2 separate regions of the Homo sapiens genome follow, and region 2 is linked to region 1. The links are contacts of gene promoters, found by promoter capture Hi-C in human tissues and cell types (Jung and others, 2019). All regions are on one chromosome and are shown on one strand. Each heading gives the region's core, a stretch centred on a gene start or on the middle of the fragment in contact. The rest is flanking DNA. Distances are from core to core; before and after follow the strand shown. Region 1 holds the start of SPI1 (Spi-1 proto-oncogene). Region 2 overlaps DDB2 (damage specific DNA binding protein 2).

Region 1 (5,372 bases), core at 2,172-4,671:
CAGCACTTTGGGAGGCCGAGGCAGGTGGATCACATGAGATCAGGAGTTTGAGACTAGCCTGGCCAACAATGATGAAACCCCATCTCTACTAAAAATACAATAATTAGCTGGGCGTGGTGGCGGGCGCCTGTAATCCCAGCTACTCAGGAGGCTGAGGCAGGAGAATCATTTGAACCCGGGAGGCAAAGTGAGCCAAGATTGTGCCACTGCACTCCAGCCTGGGCAACAAGAGCGAAACTCAGTCTCAAAAGAAAAAGAAAAAGAGAGAAAAGAAGAAAGGAAAAGAAATATCATTTGATCCAGCAATCTCACTGAGTATCTAACCAAAGGAAAATAAATCACTATACCAAAAAGATACTGCATTTTTATGTTTATCACAGCACTATTCATAATAGCAAAGACACAGAATCAACCTAAGTGTCCATCAACGGATGAGTGAATAAATAAAATGTTATATTTTTATATATATATATATATATAATGAAATACTATTCAGCCATAAAAAAGAATGAAATTATGTCTTTGCAGCAACATGGATGGAATTGGAGGCCATTATCATAAGCGAAACAATGCAGAAACAGAAAGTCAAATACTGCCTGTTCTCATGTATAAGTAGGAGCTAAATAATGTGTACACATGGACATAGAATGTGGAATGACAGACACTGGAGACTTGCAAGGGTGGGAGAGTGGGGAGGCATGGTGAGGGATGAGAAATTACTTAAAGGGCACAATGTACACTATTCTGGTGATGGATAAACTGAAAGCCTAGACTTCTCCATTATGCAATATATCCATGGAACAAAACTGCATTTGTACCCCTTACATTTATACAAAAAAGTGATTAAATGAATGAATGAATAAATAAGCATATAAACAAACCAAAGCAAGACAATAACACACACGAGTGAATGAATGAACACATCAAGCAGGGCCTAGATCTTGTGGAGTGGATAACCTTACACCCCACTGCACCCAGTCAGCTGGGGCTTGGCCTTCTTGATGGGGAAGTGGGAACAAGGATGGAACTGATGCCAAGCCAACCTGTCCCTCCCCTCCTTTTTGGGAGAGGCCTTGGTCAGGTTCCTAGGGAGCCCTGAGGACCTGTGGCCTGGAGCCTTTGGAGAGTCCCAAGTGCAGATACAAAGTCAGTGAAGGTGGAAGTCAAGTAGATCTAATGGTGAGCCCAGAGCTGTGAAATTCTGGTGTTTGCTGCTAATGAAAAAACACTTGTGGCCTAGGAATCCACTGGCAAGAAGGCAGGCCTGTCTTAGTGGAGTGGGAATTTAAAGCAAGGGGTTAGATTATACAGGGGAGGACACTGAATGTTCAAAATTCCTTCCCAGCAGAGGGGACTCACCAGAGATCACTGGGCCAGAAAAACAACAACAACAACAACAACAACAAAACAAAAATGCCTCTACTCATCCCTCCACCCCCCAGAAAAGATCAGGAACTCTCTGAAGGCAGGGGTCTTGTATAATACTTTTTTGTTTTCCCAGCGCTCAGCTTAGAGCCTGGAACTCAACATTGGGAAGATGCATGGATGGACAGATAAGTGGATAGACAGATAGATGAATGAGTGGATGGATGGATAGATGGATGGGTAGATGAGTGGATTGGTGGATGGGTGGATTAGTGAATCGGTAGATGTGTGGATGAGTGGATGGATGGATGGATGAATGGATGGATGGATAGATAAGTGGATGAGTGGATTGGTGGATGGATGAATGGATGGATGGATAGATAAGTGGATGGGTGGATTTGTGGATGGCTGGATGAATGAGTGGATGGATGGATAGGTGGATGAGTGGATGGATGAATGGGTAGATAGCTGGATTGGTGGACAGGTGGATGAGTAAATGGGTAGATGGGTAGATGGGTGGATAGGTGGATGAATGGATGGATGGATGAATGGATGGCTGGATGGATGAGTGATACCAAAAAGATACTGCATTTGTATGTTTATCACAGCACTATTCATAATAGCAAAGATACAGAATCAACATAAGTGTCCATCAACGGGTGAGTGAATAAATAACATGTTATATTGTATTTATATATATATATAATGAAATACTATTCAGCCATAAAAAAGAATGAAATTATGTCTTTGCAGCAACATGGATGGAATTGGAGGACATTATCATATGCGAAACAACGCAGAAACAGAAAGTCAAATACTGCCTGTTCTCATGGGGCTCCTGGAAACCGAAGCTGATAGGTGAATGGATGGATAGGTGGATGAATAGATGGGTGGAATGGTAGGTGGGTGGATTGGTAGATGGGTGGATGAGTGGACTGGTGGATGGATGGATGAATGAATGAAGGGGTAGGTGGATGATGGATGGGTTGATGGACAGATGAGTGGATGGGTAGATGGGTGGATGAGTGGATGGGTGGATGGATGGACAGGTGGATGAATGGATGAGCAGATTCATAGATGGATAAACAGATGGAATTGTGGACTGATGGACTGATAGCAGGTGGACGGGCTGATTAATGGACATATAGATGGTTAGATAGACAAGTAGATAAACAGATGGGTGGGTGGATGAATTGACTGACAGATGAATGAACAAACAAACGGACAGTTGGATAAATGGACACATAAGTGAATGCATGGTGGGCTTGATGAATGGATAGCTGGATGGACAAATAGACAGACAAATAGATGCATGGGAAAACAGATGAATGGTGGATAGGCAAGAAAGGTTTGTAAACCAGGAGGGTTAGATTGATATTCAGGCATTGCCAAGGGATGGGGAAACTGAGAAACCTGGGCTGGAAACAGAGCCCTAGGGATTTGAATGTGGTAATCAAGAAGCTGGGAGGGGAGGGTATAAGAACCCAGGACCCTCTTCTGGTGGTAGGGAAGCCCATGTGAACAGATTCAGAGGGAAGGAAGAAAGCAGCACTATGCTGAAGACCCTACACCTGAGCCCAGCCTCAGCCTAGGGATAGCCTAGGCAGTGGGGGTGCAGGGCCACAGGAAGAGCCAGGCCTGATAGCCTGCTAGATCAGAGCCCTCACCCAGGAAGGCTGACTCCAGAAAGTGGAGGCCCCAAGAGGCCACCCCTTCCAGCTCTGACCCCAATGAGGTGACTGTTGGCTACATAGGGATCTCAAAAGAAGCAGGCATTTGTTGGGTTAGAGCAAAAGCCTCCCAGTGGTGTGGCAGAGCTACACGTTCTCCCTCCCATCCTCCCTCCCCAGCTTAGCCCCCAAAGTCATCCCTCTCAGTCCCAGCTTCCTCTGGGCAGGGGGCCTGGACCCCATGGCTTCCCAGGCCAGCCCTTTGAGCACCACCTGCCCCAGCCGGCCAGAGACTTCCTGTATGTAGCGCAAGAGATTTATGCAAACGGGTTGGGGCGGTGATGTCACCCCAAGGGGACTATCTCCCAGCGGCAGGCCCTTCGATAAAATCAGGAACTTGTGCTGGCCCTGCAATGTCAAGGGAGGGGGCTCACCCAGGGCTCCTGTAGCTCAGGGGGCAGGCCTGAGCCCTGCACCCGCCCCACGACCGTCCAGCCCCTGACGGGGCACCCCATCCTGAGGGGCTCTGCATTGGCCCCCACCGAGGCAGGGGATCTGACCGACTCGGAGCCCGGCTGGATGTTACAGGCGTGCAAAATGGAAGGGTTTCCCCTCGTCCCCCCTGTGAGTACCGGGACTCCTCCACCAGCCCAACCCGTGGCCCTCGGACGCCTGCCTGCCTGCCCACGAACCCGCCAGCCCACCCACTGCCCTCCTGGCTTGCTATCAGTGGGAAGTCAGGGTTTCCTCCCTGGAACTCCTGGCCTGAGACCCAGCGAGGGGGCCATTGGCTTCCTCGGAGCATGCCCTGGCGGGCTGAGGCCAGGCCCACGGTGGGGCTGTGATCGGTGGGGCCTGAACAGTTATTTATAGACAGGGCTCGGGTGGCAGGCGGAGGCCGGGGCTCCTGGGGAGGGTGCTGGGCTGAGGATGGTGAAGGCGGTGGTAGAGAGGTAGAGGAGGGAGATGGGGGGACTGGCTTGGGGGAGGCCGGTCCCCTGGATGGGAAGGGGTTGAAGGCAGGAGGCAATGGGCAGAAGTCTTGGCCCATGGCCTTGGGGCTCCTGGAAACCAAAGCTGATGGAACTCTGGGTCCCCAACGCCCAGTCTGGGGCCTGGCACAGAGGACATGATTGTTGACCAAAGGGTCAGGGCCATGGGCCCACAGGGGTACCCACAGGAGACAGGGACTGGTGCTGGAAAGGAGCCAGGAGTGGAGCTGAGACAGTGCAGTTAGGGCTGGCCCCAGGGCTGGAGTTCAGGGAGAGGCGCGGCAGGGGACAGGGCTGGGACAAGGCCAGGACTGAGATTGGGGCTGGGTGGGACCTGGGGTGAGCATGTGATAAGTGAGAATGGGGGCTGAGGCTGGGACAAGGACAGGGACTGGGTCTTGGGGGTGAAGAAGTGGGAGCCCCAGGGGACCCCGAGAAGAGAAGGGCAGATCGCCACTGCTCCTCACTCTCAGTGACAGTTGCAGCCTTAGGCAGGTGTCAGACCAGGGTCCCTCGGAAAGGACCCTTCTCCCTTTTCCCACCCCATGACCTCTCAGGAGTGAGGAGGCTTGAGGGGAGCCGGGAAGGGCTTGGCAGGCTGCCCACCTGAATCCACTTTCCTGGTCTAGAGGCAGCTCCCTTCCCCCACTATGCCCTGGCTCAGAGCCACCCCAGGAGGCTGGGAGGCACCCCAGGCCTGACATCACACCAACCCGACCAGAGCCGGGCTGACATCCTGCAGCGAGGCTGTACTACCTGGAAACCCAGAGGGGCAGGCTCAGTGCTGGGCTCCTGGCCTCCTCACTTGGCCAGCCACAGGCAGGACCAGGCAGGACCAGCCAGCCTGCTGTGGCATCCACACCGACACCCCTTCCCACCTGGGAACACGAAGTGGGCGGCCCAGGCAGAGGGTGACGGAGGTTGTCTCAGAAAGAGCCAATTCTGCCTCAAGAAAGCCACAGGCCCACTGTCTCTGATCCCTGACCTCTCAATTCTGAACTCCAGGTGGAGCTAGATGGGTGGCAGAGCTCCTTGGGCCATCCCTAGGCACCCCCAGCCCTCTCTGCAAGCTCCAGGGTCACTCTGAGTGTCTCCTGGTAGGGTGGGCTCCCAAGGCAGCCCCGGTCCCCCAAGCCCAGCCCTAAGGGCCACAGTGACTGTTATGCAATCCTGGGCCACACGCTGCGGGGGCGGGGAGGCCTGATGACTGTTGGGAAGGCTCCTGGGTGTGCACGGCCCTGTGTCTGTGCCAGTAGGGGGAGGAGGACAGGGAGGAGGGAGGAAGGTGGGAGGAAAGAAGGAGGACAGGGAAGAGGGGGAAGAAAAGGAGGACAGAGGGGAGTGA
Region 2 (5,556 bases), core at 319-2,818, 140 kb after region 1:
TTAGGCAAAAAGGCATCAAAGGACTTGAAAGCTATTAGTGTTGGGGACTAATGATAGAGAAGCTATTAACAAGAGCCTGAGAAAAGGTGGGAAAATAAAAGACTTATTTTTATTATTAGAAGCACTGAAACCTGCAAGACAAACTAAGAAGGCAAAGTTGCCAGGCGCAGTGGCTCATGCCTGTAATCCTAGCACTTTGGGAGGCCAAGGTTGGGGGATGGCTTCAACCTAGGAGTTCAAGACCAGCTTGGGCAACATGGCAAAACCCCATCTCTATAAAAAATAAAAAAATTAGCTGGGTATGGTGGCGCATACCTGTAGTCCAATCTACTTCCGAGGCTAAGGCGGAAGGATTGCTTGAACCCAGGAGGTTGAGGCTGCAGTGAGCTATGTTTGTGCCACTGCACTCCAGCCTGGGTGACAGAGCAAGACCGTTTCAAGAAAAAAAAAAAAAAAAAAAAAAAGGATCAGCCTGGGTAACACAAGAATACCCTGTCTCTACAAAAAAAAAAAAAGTGAGGCAGGAGGATCGCTTGAGCCTGGGAGATCAAGGCTGTAATGAACCATGCTTGCCCCACTGTACTCCCACCTGGGTGACAGAGCGAGACCCTGCCTTAAAAAAAATAATAAAAAAATAAAAAATGAAGGTTTGTGGGTCAACTGTACACAGGTAACTGAAGCTGAGAAGACAGAACAGAGGGTCAGGATCTTAGAAAATTCTCACAGTGAGATCAGAGCTGGGCTGAAAAAACTCAGAAAAATATCTTATCAGCGAGACAGAAAACTCAACCATATGGGATGGCAGAAGTGGGATAAAAGGAAGAGAGAGAGCCAATGGGTAAGAGATGCTCTGTGCTCGGGCCAGGAGCGATCTGGGGTGGCAGGCTTACCACATCAGCCCTTCCCCACTGTGGGCAGACCTGCTCCGGCCTCATGATCACAGCCTCCTTCTGCGAGCTCCTTCCCACCGCCACTCACCTTGATGGGTGTGAGGTGCTGGAAGTGACGGTGAGGGTGCGGGATCAGGCCCAGGGGGCAGTCCCACTGGGAAGCAGAGTAAACTCGGATCTCGCTCTTCTGGTCCGTGGTCAGGAGCCGGGCTCCATCGGGACTGAAACAAGCTGGCAAAGTGAAAAGCCCCTGAGCTGAAGGAACCACAAGCCCTCTGTGGTCCTGGCCTTGCAGGCCTTCTCCTGCAGGGGTACTCTCCCTCCCACTCCTCTCTAGACAGGAGCGGAAAGGAAGAGGTGAATCTGGGCTGTGAACAACAACAAAAAAATTCTGGAAACTCAGCAGCTGATGGGGACAGCCACAGCCACAAAGGTTCCCAGACATCAGCTTGGCAGACGCTATCAGGGGTAAAGGTTTGACGTAGTGGCTTCCACACTGAGGGAAAACCCCAGCAGTGGTCAGACAGGCAGGGTCTGCAGGAGAGATGAGGTCTGGGATATCACACCTGCGTTGACAGGATGCCTGTGCGGCAGCGAGTAGAGGAAGCTGGCTTTCCCTCTAACCTGGCGCAGGTCCCAAATTTTCACTGTTTGATCTACGGAGGCTGTGGCCAGGAACCAATCACAGCATGGGTTCAGGGCCACATGCGTCACTTTCTTTTTGTGCATTCTGAGATTCCAAAGCTGCAGAGAAGAGCTCGGTTCAGGTGGGGACACAGAACCGAGGTGGGGGTGAGGGAGGGAAAGGCAGGACCTCGGAGAACGCACCTCTTTGCCGTCCATGTTCAGCAGGATCACGTTCCCCACGTTGTCTCCTGTGACCACCATTCGGCTACTAGCAGACACATCCAGGCTACAAAACCAGATGCTGGAGGGAGAGACTGTGTTGTAAGATTCTTGGGGACAGAGATAGTCCTATTTACTCACTGTTGCCGCTCCGGTGACTAACCCACAGCGGGCATTCAATAAATATTTGTTGAATGAATGAATAACTGTCTTGCCGTGGATTCCTAGTGAGGAACATTCAGACTGCTCTACCGTCCAGACAGAGGGGATGGGATAATGGGGCTCAGAAATCTGTCTGGTTATGGCTGGGCCCAGGATCCCCAGCTCCTAAAAGTCCCTGAAGCAGACAAAGCTTATACCATAAAGCAAGCCCTGAGGCACGCCTGCCCCCCACACCCCGGGTTCTGAGCAAGCCTCCTTTACTGCTCTCTCCTTTCACTCTTCACCCTTTAGGCCAAAGGAGACACAAGCCAAAGAGGGATTGCCTGGCCCTGTTCCTCAGAGCTGGCTAGAAAAGCACTTCTGCCCCCTTCTGAACACTGGGGGAAAAAACACAACCAGGAGCTCTTCTGGTCCCTCAAACCACTGGACTGGGAGGCTGACTAGGAGGGTGCTTCAGGGATCCTGCTATTCAGCCAGAAGAGCTCAGCTCACAGTTTTTCTCTCAAACTCTCAAATCCATGCTACACTGCCTTTTGCCATCCCCTATGAATATCTTCAAGCAGGAAGATTTCTTGCGGAAGAGTAGCCTGGAGCCTTGTCTATCCAATTGCCTGCTGATTTGCGTGCGCATGCACTCCTCATCCCTGCGGGACAGCCCAGGATCCAATCCAATGCTAGTTACACCCCAGCACCCTCACTTAATTCCTCAGGGAGCAGTCAGAGTCACGGCTCTAGCTGGAAATCAAAGTGACGAGTATTCTGTAATTTTTTTTTTTTTTTTTTGAGATAGATTTTCGCTCTTGTTGCCCAGGATGGAGTGCAATGGCGCCATCTCGGCTCACTGCAACCTCTGCCTCCTGGGTTCAAGCGATTCTCTTGCTTCAGCCTCCCAAGTAGCTGGGAATTACAGGGGCCTACCACCACGCCCAGCTAATTTTTTGTATTGTTAGTAGAGATGGGGGTTTCACCATGTTGGCCAGGCTGGTCTCGAACTCCTGACCTCAGGTGATCCACCCACCTTGGCCTCCCAAAGTGCTGGGATTTCAAGCATGAGCCACTGCACCCGGCCGCATTCTGTAATTTCTCCAGCCACTTTCTCTTGGGAAGTCCAGAGCACTTTATGGAAAAGATTCCATCCATATAAGCTTCCACCCAGGAACAGGTCAGGTCATTACACCACAGTGAGTGCAGGGCATTCAGTCTCAAGTTCTGAGCTGTTGCTCCATTCTCTAGGTGGCTTTCTGGGTCCACGCCATGCTGGCTTATCTAGTGAGGGTCAAGGTCCAGTCTAATACAGGTATGACTTACAGAAGAGCTGAGGCTCCAGAACACCTTCCCAAAGCAGTAACCCACCTGGACCAAAGTGAGGGCAGCCAAGGAGCAGTTTGAGAAAGAGAAAGAAGGGCGGAAAGTGGCTGACATCTTTCCTTTCTTCCCTGGGCCAGGTTGGGTTAAGGAAATGGGATCTGGATGCTCTTGCCGGAACTACACCTAAGCTTAGAAGCCCTTTCCCCTGCTAGTTAAACTACTCACTTGATGGTGTCTGAGCTGGCAAAAACTCGTAGAATGTTGCCTTTAAAGTCTTGCAGCCTAGTTGTTCCCTCCATTGAGGAGGCGTAAAACTGGTTGGTATTGAGAGGGTTAAACTTCAGCCCAGTGATGCTCCCTCCAGCTCCAATCTAACACGAGGAAGGAAAAAGCCAGTGAGTGATGATGGGCCTGGCCGTGAGGAACCAGGCCTGGGCACACATGCTGCGCCGTCACAGAAGCACCCCTCGAGCAGCGCTTGGGGCCAGGTCAGCTTAGACACTAGGACGCTCTCTACAGGGCCTTCACTTCTTTTTCTTTTCCTTTGAAATAGGGTCTTTCTCTGTCACTTAGGCTGAAGTGCAGTGGCACAAACACGGCTCACTGCAGCCTCAATCTCCTGGGCTCAAGCGATCCTCCCACCTCAGCCTCCCAAGTGCGTGCCACCATGCCCAGCTAATTTTTCTATTTTTTTTTTTTAAGATGGGGTTTTGTCACGTTGCCCAAGCTGGTCTTGAACTCCTAAGCTCAAGCGATCCCCCTGCCACGGCTTCCCAAAGTGCTAAGATTACAGGCATGAGCCGCTTTGTCTGGCCCCTTCATTTCTTTCTTTTTTTTATTTTTATTTTTATTTTTATGTTTTTGAGATGGAGTCCTGCTCTGTCACGACCTCGGCTCACTGCAACCTCTGCCTTCCAGGTTCAAGCGATTCTCCTGCCTCAGCCTCCCAAGCAGCTGGGATTACAGGTGCCCACCACCACGCATGGCTAAATTGTATATTTTTAGTAGAGACAGGGTTTCACCATGTTGGCCAGGCTGGTCTGGAACTCCTGCCCTCAGGTAATCCGCCACCCTTGGCCTCCCAAAGTGCTGGGATTACAGGCGTGAGCCACCGTGCCCCGCCTCCCTTCATTTCTTAAGGCTTTATTTTTACTTTTTTTTTTAATTAACATATAGCAAATTTGGGATATAAAGTTCTCTGAATTTTAACATATGTATAGACTTAAATAACCACCACCCAAATCAGGATGCAGAACATTTGCAACAGCCCAAAAACTCCATCGTGGTATCCCATTGTAATCACACCCTCCCCTCGCCCCCAGCCCCTGGCTGATCTGTTCTCCATCACTATTGTTTTGCCCTCATAGAATGTCCTATAGACCGAGCACAGTAATCCCAACACCTGGGGAGACTGAGGCGGGGGGATTGCTTGAGGCCAGGAGTTCAAGACCAGCCTAAGCAATATAGGGAGACCCCATCTCTACACACACAAAAAAAATTTAGACATGGTGGTAGGTGCATGTGGTTCTAGCTACTCAGAAGGCTGAGGTGGGAAGATGACGGAAGCCTGGAGGTCGAGGCTGCAGTGAGTTGCGATCGAATCACTGCACTCTAGCGTGGGTGACAGAGCAAGACCCTGTCTCTAAAAATAAAATAAAATAAAATTAAAAATAGAATGTCATGTAAATGAATTAGGCAGTATGCAACCTTTTGAGACTGTCTTGTTTCATTTCACTCATCATGCCTCTGAGATTCATCTGAGTTTGCTGTATCAAGAGCTCATCTCATTTTATTGCTGAGGTATTCCATTACATGGATGTGCCCTAATTTGTTATTCCCACAGTGCTCTCTTTAGAAGAGCTTCAGCTCAGAGCAGTGGCTGAGTTAGGAGGGCAGGAGTCAGATCTGTGCCCCTTCCTATTCTTCCAAACATTCATGAAAATGATGATGAAAATAATCATGAGAATATCAATGGCTTAACCTTATTAAGTGCTTACTATGTACTAGGCGCTGGTTTTTTGGGGGGATTTTCTTTGTGTGTTTTTTTTTTTTTTTTTTTTTTTTTGAGATGAAGGCTTGCTCTGTCGCCCAGGCTGAAGTGCGGTGGCACAACCTCAGCTCACTGCAGCCTCCACCTCCTGGATTCCAGTGATCCTCCTGCCTCAGCCTCCTGAGTAGCTGGGATTACATGCCCACACCATCACACCCAGCTAATTTTTGTATTTTTAGTAAAGACAGGTTTCACCATGTTGGTCAGGCTGGTCTCGAACTCCTGACCTCAGGTGATTGGCCTGCCTCGGCTTCCCAAAGTGCTGGGATTACAGGCGTGAGCCACTGCGCCCAGTCAGGC

Evidence for each region. Contacts are between HindIII fragments. The study calls those that stand out against the background at their distance.
Region 2: a contact is called between a fragment that was not itself captured here and the fragment with the promoter of SPI1 in region 1, in 1 of the 25 tissues and cell types used here (spleen).

Annotation. Positions count from the first base shown.
Region 1 is chr11:47,376,596-47,381,967 of GRCh38, reverse strand. It overlaps SPI1 (Spi-1 proto-oncogene), which reads left to right and starts at 3,421. Exons shown (of 5, transcript NM_003120.3): 1 at 3,421-3,659. The coding sequence starts at 3,615. SLC39A13-AS1 (SLC39A13 antisense RNA 1) reads left to right here. Exons shown (of 4, transcript NR_182308.1): 4 at 1-353. RefSeq lists enhancers at 3,258-3,327, 2,823-3,774, 3,948-3,997, 4,668-4,867. The HindIII fragment of the contact is 21,953 bases long and covers 1-5,372 here.
Region 2 is chr11:47,230,835-47,236,390 of GRCh38, reverse strand. DDB2 (damage specific DNA binding protein 2) reads right to left here. Exons shown (of 10, transcript NM_000107.3): 4 at 3,432-3,577; 5 at 1,719-1,818; 6 at 1,457-1,634; 7 at 979-1,121. Among named protein-coding and RNA genes, the nearest start is that of ACP2, 15 kb to the left of the region's middle. The HindIII fragment of the contact is 6,251 bases long and covers 1-4,693 here.